Linked DNA regions of Homo sapiens: region 2 is linked to region 1. Evidence: promoter capture Hi-C in human tissues and cell types (Jung and others, 2019). All regions are on one chromosome and are shown on one strand. Each heading gives the region's core, a stretch centred on a gene start or on the middle of the fragment in contact. The rest is flanking DNA. Distances are from core to core; before and after follow the strand shown.

The links. Contacts are between HindIII fragments. The study calls those that stand out against the background at their distance.
Region 2: a contact is called between a fragment that was not itself captured here and the fragment with the promoter of ARRDC5 in region 1, in 1 of the 25 tissues and cell types used here (dorsolateral prefrontal cortex).

What each region holds. Positions count from the first base shown.
Region 1 is chr19:4,900,578-4,906,763 of GRCh38, forward strand. It overlaps ARRDC5 (arrestin domain containing 5), which reads right to left and starts at 2,319. Exons shown (of 3, transcript NM_001080523.3): 1 at 1,996-2,319. The coding sequence starts at 2,248. It also overlaps a transcript of UHRF1 not described here. The HindIII fragment of the contact is 23,961 bases long and covers 1-6,186 here.
Region 2 is chr19:5,547,375-5,553,560 of GRCh38, forward strand. No RefSeq gene overlaps it. Among named protein-coding and RNA genes, the nearest start is that of TINCR, 17 kb to the right of the region's middle. The HindIII fragment of the contact is 3,354 bases long and covers 856-4,209 here.

The DNA of each region.
Region 1 (6,186 bases), core at 1,069-3,568:
TTGCTCAGTATTAGTGTCTGGTAAGTTGACATTTGTCCCCAGGATATTTGCATGGCTGGAGTCCCTCCTATCACTCAGTTCTGTGCTTGGTTGTTCCCTCTTTGCAGAGTACTCCTCTGGTGGAACAGACCATCTCATCTAAATTTTTAAAGTCTAAAATGGCCAGGTGTGGTGGCTCATGCCTGTAATCCCAGCACTTTGGGAGGCCAAGGTGGGCGGATCACCTGAGGTCGGGAGTTCAAGACCAGCCTGACCAACATGGAGAAACTCCGTCTCTACTAAAAATACAAAATTAGCTGGGAGTGGTGGCACACGCCTGTAGTGCCAGCTACTCGGGAGGCTGAGGCGGGACAATCGGTTGAACCCAGGAGGTGGAGGTTGCAGTGAGCCAAGATTACGCCACTGCACTCCAGCCTGGGCAACGAGTGAGATTCAGTCTCAAAAAAAAAAAAAATTGCTAGTTCTTTTTTTAAGAGACAGTCGTTTGAACCCAGGAGGTTGCGGTGAGCCGAGATTGCGCCATTGCACTCCAGCCTGGGCAGCAAGAGCAAAACTCCGTCTCAAAAAAACGAAAACAAAAAATAAACAAAAATTAGCCAAGCATGGTGCCATGTGCCTGTGGTCTCAGCTACTCAGGAGGCTGAGGTGAGAGGATCGCTTATGCCAGAGAGGCTGGGGCTGCAGTGAGTTTTGATCACACCACTGGCCTCTAGCCTGGGCAACAGAGCGAGGCCCTGTCTCAAAAATAAATACATAAGCCAGGCCTGGTGGCTCATGCCTGTAATCCCAGTACTTTGGGAGGCCGAGGTGGGCGAATCACGAGGTCAGGAGTTCGAGACCAGCCTGGCCAACGTGGTGAAACCCTGCCTCTACTAAAAATACCAAAAATTGCTGGGCATGGTGGCGGGTGCCTGTAATCCCAGCCACTCAGGAGGCTGAGGCAGGAGAATCGTTTGAACCCGGGAGGCGGAGCTTGCAGCGAGCCGAGATGGTGCCACTTCACTCCAGCCTGGGAAGCAGGGCGAGACTGTGTCTCAAAAAATAGATAAATAAATAAATAAGATACAAATAAATAAATACAGAAATAAATTAAATTAAATTACACTTTGTTCAGCCAAGTGTTGGCCACGTGTTCTGCTTGACTGCTTAATACCTGGGAATATCCCCACAAACACATTTTGCAATGGACATATAATTTCCCCGACAACTCAGCAGACTCTCTGACATTTGTTCAGATTTCAGATCTGACCTGGTGGAACTGGGGACTAGTTATTCCTTCTCTGGAAGGTCTCCCTTGCTCTTCTACCTCCACTATCTTTCTTTTTTTGAGAGGGAATCTCGCTCCGTCACCCAGGCTGGCGTGCTGTGGTGCGATCTCAGCTTACTGGAACCTCCCCTTCACGAGTTCAAGTGATTCTCTTGCTTCAGCCTCCCAAGTAGCTGAGATTACAGGCACGTGCCAGCACGCCCAGCTAATTTTTTGGTATTTTTTGGTAGAGATGGGGTTTCGCTATATTGGCCAGGCTGGTCTCAAACTCCTGACCTCAAGTGATCCACCTGCCTCGGCCTCTCAAAGTGCTGGAATTACAGGTATGAACCACTGTGCCTGGCCCACCTCCACTGTCTCTCCCCATGAATGCAGGACTGCCTACTTTGTCTCCTGGGGTTTTGCTGTCAGAGTGAAACTTATCTGTAAAAGAATAAGACTTCTCAGAGGCCTCTCAAAGGCAGTTGTTGGATTGAGCATTTTCCAAGGAGACTACTTTGAACCTTCATTTTGAATATCGGGGTTCCGATCAGCTCCTTATGTCTTGTTATTTTTGCGTTTTGTGTATCTGATGGTCATTGTTCTTCATGGCCTCCCTCCTAGGGAGAAATCAGGCCACTCCCTATTTCTGATAGCCCTAGAGTTTTGTTGATTGACTCTCGGATGTGTTTATTTTCCAGACCCAGGTTCCTGTCATGGCTAGGGGTGGCTGTTGGCCTCGTCCTTACCCTCCACTGGGAATGTCTTTGTCTTATGCACGTAGTCTGCCTTGTTGTTGCAAATAACATTTCTGCTATAATCACAGGATGCCCCGGCTTCTTCACTCCATTCGACGTAACCCCTTCCCACGAGCTCCACCTTCACTATGGGGTCCACCAGGGTGCTGTTCAGGGTTAAGATCACCTGCCCTTTTATGCTGGAGCCAGCCAGGTAGATTCTATCCTCGGGCAGCACTAATTCGATCGACTTCACCACAGACATGGGGGGTTGGGGGGTAGAGAGACATTCCTCTCTGTCCCCCATGTCCCTGAAATTCCCGGTTCGTTGGCCCTAGTGAGGTAATCCATCTATGACATCACTCAGCTCAGAGTTCCGGGAAGTGGGGACCCCAGTGGCCAGGAGGGGAGGCAAAACTGTTGTTTAGGGTGGGTGGTTGATTGGGAAACCTGTAGTCCTCACTGGTTCTTTTTTTTTTTTTTTGAGATGGAGTCTTACCCTGTAGCCCAGGCTGGAGTGCAGGGGTGCCATCTTGGCTCACTGCAACCTCCGCCTCATGGGTTCAAGCAATTCTCCTGCCTCAGCCTCCTGAGTAGCTGGGACCACGGGTGCATGCCAGCATGCCCAGCTAATTTTTTGGTAGAGACAGAGTTTCACTGTGTTGGCCAGGATGGTCTCGATCTCCTGACCTCGTGATCCACCCACCTCAGCCTCCCAAAGTGCTGGGATTGCAGGCGTGAGCCACTGCACCTGGGCTTTTTCTTTTTTTGAGACAAAGTCTCATTCTGTCACCCAGGCTGGAGTGTAGTGGCGCGATCTCGGCTCACTGCCACATCTGCCTCCCGGGTTCAAGCAATTCTCCTGCTTCAGCCTCCTGAGTAGCTGGAATTACAGGCATGCACCATCACCATGCTTTGCTAATTTTTTTTTGGTATTTTTATTTATTTTATTTTTATTTTTTGTGATGGTCTCACTCTGTCAGCCAGACTGGAGTGCAATGGTGTGATCTCGGCTCACTGCAACCTCTGCCTCCTGGGTTCCAGCGATTCTCCCACCTCAGCCCCCCAAGTACCTGAGATTACAGGCAAGTGCCACTGCAACTAGCTAATTTTTGTATTTTTAGTAGAGACGGGGTTTCACCATGTTGGCCAGGCTGGTCTCGAACTTGTGGCCTCACATGATTCGCCTGCCTTGGCCTCCCAAAGTGCTGGGATTACAGTTGTGAGCCACTGTGCCCAGGTGCATACACACTCATTTTCATCTTAAAGACTCTACATTTATATTGGTCTATATTGGAAAAAACATAGAGATATGGCCAGGACCTGAAATCTGGTGCGCACTGAAGTTGATCAGGGCAGTGTGTGCTTAATCTGAACATCGACACCATCAGGAAGCAGCAACTCCCTGCATGATTGACATTTCTCTTTTTTTTTGAGGTGGAATCTCACTCTGTTGCCCAGGCTGGAGTGCAGTGGCGTGATCTCGGCTCACTGCAACCTCTGCCCCCTGGGTTCAAGCGATTCTCCTGCCTCAGCCTCCCAAGTAGCTGGGATTACGGGCATGGGGGTTACAGGCACCTGCCCCCGTGCCCGGCTAATTTTTGTTCTTTTTGTTTTTGTTTTTGTTTTTTTTTTGAGATTGGAGTCTCACTTTGTCACCCAGGCTGGAGTGCAGTGGTGCGATCTCGGCTCACTGCAAGCTCCGCCTCCCGTGTTCATGCCATTCTCCTGCCTCAGCTTCCCGAGTAGCTGGGACTACAGGCGTCCGCCACAAATGCCTGGCTAATTTTTTGTATTTTTAGTAGAGACGGGGTTTCATCATGTTAGCCAGGATGGTCTCAATCTCCTGACCTCGTGATCCGCCCACCTTGGCCTCCCAAAGTGCTGGGATTACAGGCGTGAGCCACCGCACCCAGCCAATTTTTGTTATTTTTAGTAGAGACAGGGTTTCACCATCTTGGCCAGGCTGATCTTGAACTCCTGACCTCATGATCCACCCGCCTCACTTGGCCTCCCAAAGTGCTGGGATTACAGGCATGAGCTACCACGCCTGGCTGACATTTCTCTTTATGCCTGCATCTCCCCCATTGGATGGGAAGTCCCTCCAGGGTGAGACCTTGTCTAAGTGAACTTTGTGCCCATCAATGTCTGCGTGACCCAGGCAGGATCTGGCTCAGCCAGGAGTGGGTGTGGGGGGTGGAATCAATAAAAGTTTGTTGAATGACTTAATGACCTCTGAGAATGTATCATTTTGCAAAAGGGAAACTGAAGCCCTTTGCACTCTAACAATTATTCCTGGCACCTGATTTGCACATGGTCTGGTGCCTGAGAGGGAGGGACATTGAATCATAGGAGGGGCTAGGAAGTACCCATTCTCTAGCCTGGCAGGCCTTATTTCTTGTCTTGGCTGTATCTTGCATTATTTTATGTGATAGCTTTTGTGGGCATTGGCCTCTTATTTCCCTAAGTCAAGCTCATCCAACCCCTGACCCACGGGCCACATTTGGCCCAGGATGGAATATGGCTCAACACAAATTCGTAAACTTTCTTTTTTTTTTTTTTTTTTTTTTTTTTGAGACAGAGTCTTGCTCAGTCGCCCAGGCTGGAGTGCAGTGGTGTGATCTCGGCTCACTGCAAGCTCTGCCTCCCAGGTTCACGCCATTCTCCTGCCTCAGCCTCCCGAGTAGCTGGGACTACAGGCATGTGCCACCATGCCCGGCTAATTTTTTTTTGTATTTTTAGTAGAGATGGGGTTTCACCATGTTAGCCAGGATGGTCTCCATCTCCTGACCTCGTGATCCACCTGCCTCAGCCTCCCAAAGTGCTGGGATTACAGGTGTGAGCCACCACACCCGGCCACAAATTTGTAGTTTCTTAAAACATTATGAGATTTTTTTGCAATTTTTTTTTTAGCTCATCAGGTATTGTTAGTGTTAGTGTATTTTATTATTTATTTATTTATTTATTTATTTTTGAGATGGAGTTTTGCTCTTGTTGCCCAGGCTGGAGTTCAGTGGTGCAATCTCGGCTCACTGTAACCTCCGCCTCCTGGGTTCAAGCAATTCTTCTGCCTCTGCCTCCCGAGTAGCTGGGATTATAGGCACGTGCCACCACATCTGGCTAATTTTTGTATTTTTAGTAGAGACGGGGTTTCACCGTGTTAGCCAGGCTAGTCTTGATCTCCTGACCTCAGTGATCCGCCTGCCTTGGCCTCCCAAAGTTCTGGGATTACAGGCGTGAGCCACTGTGCCCGGCCAGTGTTAGTGTATTTTATGTGTGGCCCAAGACAATTCTTCTTCCAATGTGGCCCAGGGAAGCCAAAAGATTGGACACCCCTGCTCTAAGTGACTTGTGAGCTTTTTTTCTGAGACGCCTGGAATAGTTTGTTACTCATGTTTTTAAATGATTAACTTGAGCAATTATTACTATTTTTTGAGACAGAGTCTCCTTCTGTCACCCAGGCTAGAGTGCAGTGGCGCAAGCATGGCTCACTGTTGCCTTGATCTTCTGGGCTCAAGAGGTCCTCCTGCATCAGTGTCCTGAGTAGCTGGGACTACAGGTGCACACCACCATGCCTGGCTAATTTATTTTTATTTTTTGTAGAGAAGGGTTCTCACTACGTTGCCCAAGCTGGTCTCAAACTCCCGGGCGCAAGAGATCAGCCTTCCTCGGCCTCTCAAAGTGCTGGGATTGCAGGTGTGAGCCACTGCACCCAGCTGGACAATTAACCTGAGCTAATTTGAAAAATTTTGATGTTCTCAAGATGACTAGGGAACTGGAGCCCTCAATCAACAGTCCTCAGTATCTTTTCTGCAGGGAGGGCTAGATACCTCCTCTGTGACACTTAACTTCCATTATCCAAGGTGCTTAGGCTGTGCCCCTCACCACGTGTACATGAAGAATGCATGCCCAGCCAATCACAGTGGCTCATGCCTGTAATCCCAGCACTTTGGGAAGTCCAGGCGGGCAGATCACCTAAGGTCAGGAGTTTGAGACCAGCCTGGCCAATGTGGTGAAACCCCATCTCTACTAAAAATAAAAAATTAGCCGGACATGGTGGTGCGGACCTCTAGTTCCTGCTACTGGGGAGGCTGAGGCAGAAGAATTGCTTGAACCCAGGAGGTGGAGGTTGCGGAGAGCCAAGATCATACCACTGCACTGCAGGCTGGGCACCAAAGCAAGACTCCATCTCAAAAAGAAAAA
Region 2 (6,186 bases), core at 1,283-3,782, 650 kb after region 1:
GTGCCTGTAATCCCAGCTACTTGGGAGGCTGAGGCAGGAGAATCGCTTGAACCTGGGAGATGGAGGTTTCAGTGAGCTGAGATCACACCATTGCACTTCAGCCTGGGTGACAAGAGTGAAACTCTGTCTCAGAACACACACACACACACACACACACACACCCCAGAAAAAATAGCTCATTCACAATTTTTTCTATAGATTGCATGCTTAAATGATAAAACACATTACTAAAACTAATTTCACCTGTTTCTTTTTACTATTTTTTATTTTTTGAGACGGAGTTTCGCTCATTGTTGCCCAAGCTGGAGTGCAATGGTGTGATCTCAGCTCACCGCAACCTCCACCTCCTGGGTGCAAGTGATTCTCCGGCCTTAGCCTCCCAATCAGCTGGGATTACAGGCGTGCACCACCACGCCCAGCTAATTTTGTATTTTTAGTAGAGACCAGGCTGGTCTCAAACTCCCGACCTCAGGAGGTCCGCCCGCCTCAGCCTCCCAAAGTGCTGGGATTAGAGGCGTGAGCCACTGCGCCCAGCCTTCTTTTTACTGTTTTTTTCTTGTGGCTACCAGGAAATCTTTAATTGCCCACGTTGATGGCATTTGCATTTCTAAAATGCTGCAGCCTTTGCACCGACCACCAGAGAGTGCTGTGCCCATGTGGCAGGATCAAGCAATCCGGAATCTGAAGGAAAAGAAAGTAGTTCAAGCTGACGATCAGTTAGATCAGTTCTTACAATGGAGACACGTTTACCATCTGGCATCTTTCAGCATCTAAGGGAGACAGATCTGCCTGGAGATAGGGAGTCTGCCGCTGATCCTCACACCATTTTATCCTGCTAGGTGGGGGACAGAATGAGGCCTGCAGTCAACTCACAGATTCTGCAGCTTTTTTTTTTTTTTTTTTTTTTTTTTTGAGACAGGATCTGGCTCTGTAACCCAGGCTGGAGTGCAATGGTGCAATGTCGGCTTACTGCAACCTCCACCTCCTGGACCCAAGTGATCCTCCCACCCCAGCCTCCCAAGTAGCTGGGACCACAGGTGTGCAACACCATACCAGGCTAATTTTTGTAGTTTTTATAGAGACAGGGTTTCACTATGTTGCCCGGGCTGGTCTTGAACTCCTGAGCTCCAGTGATGCCTGCCTTGGCCTCCCAAATTACTGGGATTAAAGGCGTGAGCTACAGCATTTATTAGATACCTACTGTCAGGCCTCTGAGCCCAGGCCAGGCCATCGCATCCCCTGTGACTGGCACGTATACATCCAGATGGCCTGAAGTAACTGAAGATCCACAAAAGAAGTAAAAACAGCCTTAACTGATGACATTCCACCATTGTGATTTGTTCCTGCCCCACCCTAACTGATCAATGTACTTTGTAGTCTCCCCCACCCTTAAGAAGGTTCTTTGTAATTCTCCCCACCCTTGAGAATGTACTTTGTGAGATCCACCCCTGCCCACCAGAGAGCAACCCCCTTTGACTGTAATTTTCCATTACCTTCCCAAATCCTATAAAACGGCCCCACCCGTATCTCCCTTCGCTGACTCTCTTTTCGGACTCAGCCGGCCTGCACCCAGGTGAAATAAACAGCCATGCTTCTCACACAAAGCCTGTTTGGTGGTCTCTTCACACAGACGCGCATGAAATTTGGTGCCGTGACTCGGATCGGGGGACCTCCCTTGGGAGGTCAATCCCCTGTCCTCCTGCTCTTTGCTCCGTGAGAAAGATCCACCTACCACCTCAGGTCCTCAGTCCAACCAGCCCAGGAAACATCCCACCAATTTCAAATCCGGTAAGCGGCCTCTTTTTACTCTCTTCTCCAACCTCCCTCACTATCCCTCAACCTCTTTCTCCTTTCAATCTTGGCGCCACATTTCAATCTCTCCCTTCTCTTAATTTCAATTCCTTTCATTTTCTGGTAGAGACAAAAGAGACATGTTTTATCCGTGAACCCAAAACTCCGGCGCCGGTCACGGACTGGGAAGGCAGCCTTCCCTTGGTGTTTAATCATTGCAGGGACGCCTCTCTGATTATACACTCACGTTTCAAGGGTGTCAGACCACGCAGGGACGCCCGCCTTGGTCCTTCACCCTTAGTGGCAAGTCCCGCTTTCCTGGGGCAGGGGCAAGTACCCCTCAACCCCTTCTCCTTCACCCTCAGTGGCAAGTCCCGCTTTCCTAGGGGGCAAGAAACCCCCAATCGCTTATTTCCGCACCCCAACCTCTTATATCTCTGCACCCCAATCCCTTATTTCCACACCCTGACCTCTTTGTGCCCCAATCCCTTACTTCCGTGCCCCAACCCCTTCTCTGCTTTTCTGGAGGGCGAGAACCCCCCACCCCTTCTCCGTGTCTCTACTCTTTTTTCTGGGCTTGCCTCCTTCACTATGGGTAAGCTTCCACCTTCCATTCCTCCTCCTTCTCCTTTAGCCTGTGTTCTCAAAAACTTAAAACCTCTTCAACTCACACCTGACCTAAAACCTAAATGCCTTATTTTCTTCTGCAATGCCGCTTGACTCCAATACAAGCTCGACAGTAGTTCCAAATAGCCGGAAAACGGCACTTTCAATTTTTCCATCCTACAAGATCTAAATAATTCTTGTCGTAAAATGGGCAAATGGTCTGAGGTGCCTGAAGTCCATCAGTCCCTTCCTACTCTCTGTGCCCAGTGCAACTCGTCCCAAATCTTCCTTCTTTCCCTCCCACCTGTCCCCTCAGTCCCAACCCCAAGCGTCGCTGAGTCTTTCTCATCTTCCTTTTCTACAGACCCATCTGACCTCTCCCCTCCTCGCCAGCCCAAGCTAAGTCCCAATTCTTCCTCAGCCTCTGCTCCTGCATCCTGTCATTTTTTTATCGCCTCCCCTCCTCACACCTGGTCCGGCTTACAGTTTCGTTCCGTGACTAGCCCTCCCCCTCCTGCCCAGCAATTTACTCTTAAAAAGGTGGCTGGAGCCAAAGGCATAGTCGAGGTTAATGCTCCTTTTTCTTTATCCCAAATCAGAAGCGTTTAGGCTCTTTTTCATCAAATATAAAAACCCAGCCCAGTTCATGACTTGTTTGGCAGTAACCCTGAGACACTTTACAGCCCTAGACCCTAAAAAGTCAAAAGGCCGTCTTATTCTCAAAATATATTTTATTACCCAATCTGCTCCCGACATTAAATAAAACTCCAAAAATTAAATTCCGGCCCTCAAACCCCACAACAGGACTTAATGAACCTCGCCTTCAAGGTGTACAATAATAGAAAAAAGTTGCAATTCCTTGCCTCCACTGTGAGACAAACCCCAGCCACATCTCCAGCACACAAGAACTTCCAAATGCCTGAACCGCAGCGGCCAGGCGTTCCTCCAGAACCTCCTCCCCCAGGAGCTTGCTACACGTGCCGGAAATCTGGCCACTGGGCCAAGGAATGCCCGCTGCCCGGGATTCCTCCTAAGCCGCGTCCCATCTGTGTGGGACCCCACTGAAAATCGGACTGTTCAACTCACCTGGCAGCCACTCCCAGAGCCCCTGGAACTCTGGCCCAAGGCTCTCTGACTGACTCCTTCCCAGATCTTCTCGGCTTAGCGGCTGAAGACTGACGCTGCCCGATCGCCTCGGAAGCCCCGTAGACCATCACGGACGCCGAGCTTCGGGTAACTCTCACAGTGGAAGGTAAGTCCGTCCCCTTCTTAATCAATACGGAGGCTACCCACTCCACATTATCTTCTTTTCAAGGGCCTGTTTCCCTTGCCTCCATAACTGTTGTGGGTATTGACGGCCAGGCTTCAAAACCCCTGAAAACTCCCCCACTCTGGTGCCAACTTAGACAACACTCTTTTATGCACTCTTTTTTAGTTATCCCCACCTGCCCAGTTCCCTTATTAGGCCGAGATACTTTAACCAAATTATCTGCTTCCCTGACTATTCCTGGACTACAGCCGCATCTCATTGCCGCCCTTCTCCCCAGCCCAAAGCTTCCTTCACGTCTTCCTCTCGTATCCCCCCACCTTAAGCCACAAGTATGGGACATCTCTACTCCTTCCCTGGCAACTGATCACATGCCCATTACCATCCCATTAAAACCTAATCACCCTTACCCCGCTCAACGCCAATATCCCATCCCACAGCATGCTTTAAAAGGATTAAAGCCTGTTATCACTCGCCTGCTATAGCATGGGCTTCTAAAACCTATAAACTCTCCTTACAATTCCCCCATTTTACCTGTCCGAAAACCGGATAAGTCTTACAGATTAGTTCAGGATCTGCGTCTTATCAACCAAATTGTTTTGCCATCCACCCTGTGGTGCCCAACCCGTACCCTCTTTTGTCCTCAATCCGTTCCTCCACAACTCACTATTCTGTTCTCCATCTTAAAGATGCTTTTTTCACTGTTCCCCTGCACCCCTCGTCCCAGCCTCTCTTTGCTTTCACTTAGACTGACCCTGACACCCATTAGGCTCAGCAAATTACCAAGGCTGTACTGCTGCAAAGCTTCACAGACAGCCCCCATTACTTCAATCAAGCACAAATTTCTTCCTCATCTGTTACCTATCTCGGCATAATTCTCAAAAACACACGTGCTTTCCCTGCCAATCGTGTCCGACTGACCTCTCAAACCCCAGCACCTACAAAACAACAACTCCTTTCCTTCCTAGGCATGGTTAGCGTGGTCGGAATTCTTACACAAGAGCCAGGACCACACCCTGTAGCCTTTCTGTCCAAACAACTTGACCTTACTGTTTTAACCTAGCCCTCATGTCTGCGTGCAGCGGCTGCTGCTGCTTTAATACTTTTAGAGGCCCTCAAAATCACAAACTTTATCAGTCCTCCAGGCCCAAGTTGACTCTTTAGCTGCAGTTGTCCTCCAAAACCACCGAGGCCTTGACTGACTTACTGCTGAAAAAGGAGGACTCTGCATATTCTTAAATGAGGAGTGTTGTTTTTACCTAAATCAATCTGGCCTGGTGTATGACAACATAAAAAAACTCAAGGATAGAGCCCAAAAACTTGCCAACCAAGAAAGTAATTACGCTGAACCCCCTTGGGCACTCTCTAATTGGATGTCCTGGGCCCTCCCAATTCTTAGTCCTTTAATACCCATTTTTCTCCTCCTTTTCTTCAGACCTTCTATCTTCCGTTTAGCTTCTCAGTTCATTGAAAACCGTATCCAGGCCATCACCAATCATTCTATACGACAAATGTTTCTTCTAACATCCCCACAATATCACCCCTTACCACAAGACCTCCCTTCAGCTTAATCTCTCCCACTCTAGGTTCCCACGCCGCCCCTAATCCCGCTCGAAGCAGCCCTGAGAAACATCGCCCGTTCTCTCTCCATACCACCCCCCAAAAATTTTCGCCGCTGCAACACTTCAACACTATTTTGTTTTATTTGTCTTATTAATATAAGAAGGCAGGAATGTCAGGCCTCTGAGCCCAGGCCAGGTCATCGCATCCCCTGTGACTTGCACGTATACATCCAGATGGCCTGAAGTAACTGCAGATCCACAAAAGAAGTAAAAACAGCCTTAACTGGTGATATTCCACCATTGTGATTTGTTCCTGCCCCACCCTAACTGATCAATGTACTTTGTAGTCTCCCCCACCCTTAAGAAGGTTCTTTGTAATTCTCCCCACTCTTGAGAATGTACTTTGTGAGATCCACCCCTGCCCACCAGAGAACAACCCCCTTTGACTGTAATTTTCCATTACCTTCCCAAATCCTATAAAACGGCCCCACCCCTATCTCCCTTCGCTGACTCTCTTTTCGGACTCAGCCGGCCTGCACCCAGGTGAAATAAACAGCCATGCTGCTCACACAAAGCCTGTTTGGTGGTCTCTTCACATGGACACGCATGAAACCTACTGTGTACTTTGCTTTCTTTGCTCTTGGTGATTCCCCAAAAAACTTATCTCAACATATAAGGATTTTTCTTTTCTTTTTTTTTTTTTGTTTGAGACGGAGTCTCGCTCTGTCGCCCAGGCTGGAGTACAGCGGCGCGATCTCGGCTCACTGCAAGCTCCGCCTCCCGGGTTCACGCCATTCTCCTGCCTCAGCCTCCGGAGTAGCTGGGACTACAGGCGCCCGCTGCCACGCCCGGCTAATTTTTTTGTATTTTTAGTAGAGATGGGTTTCACCGTGTTAGCCATAATGGTCTCAATCTCCTGACCTCATGATCCGCCTGCCTTGGCCTCCCAAAGTGCTGGGA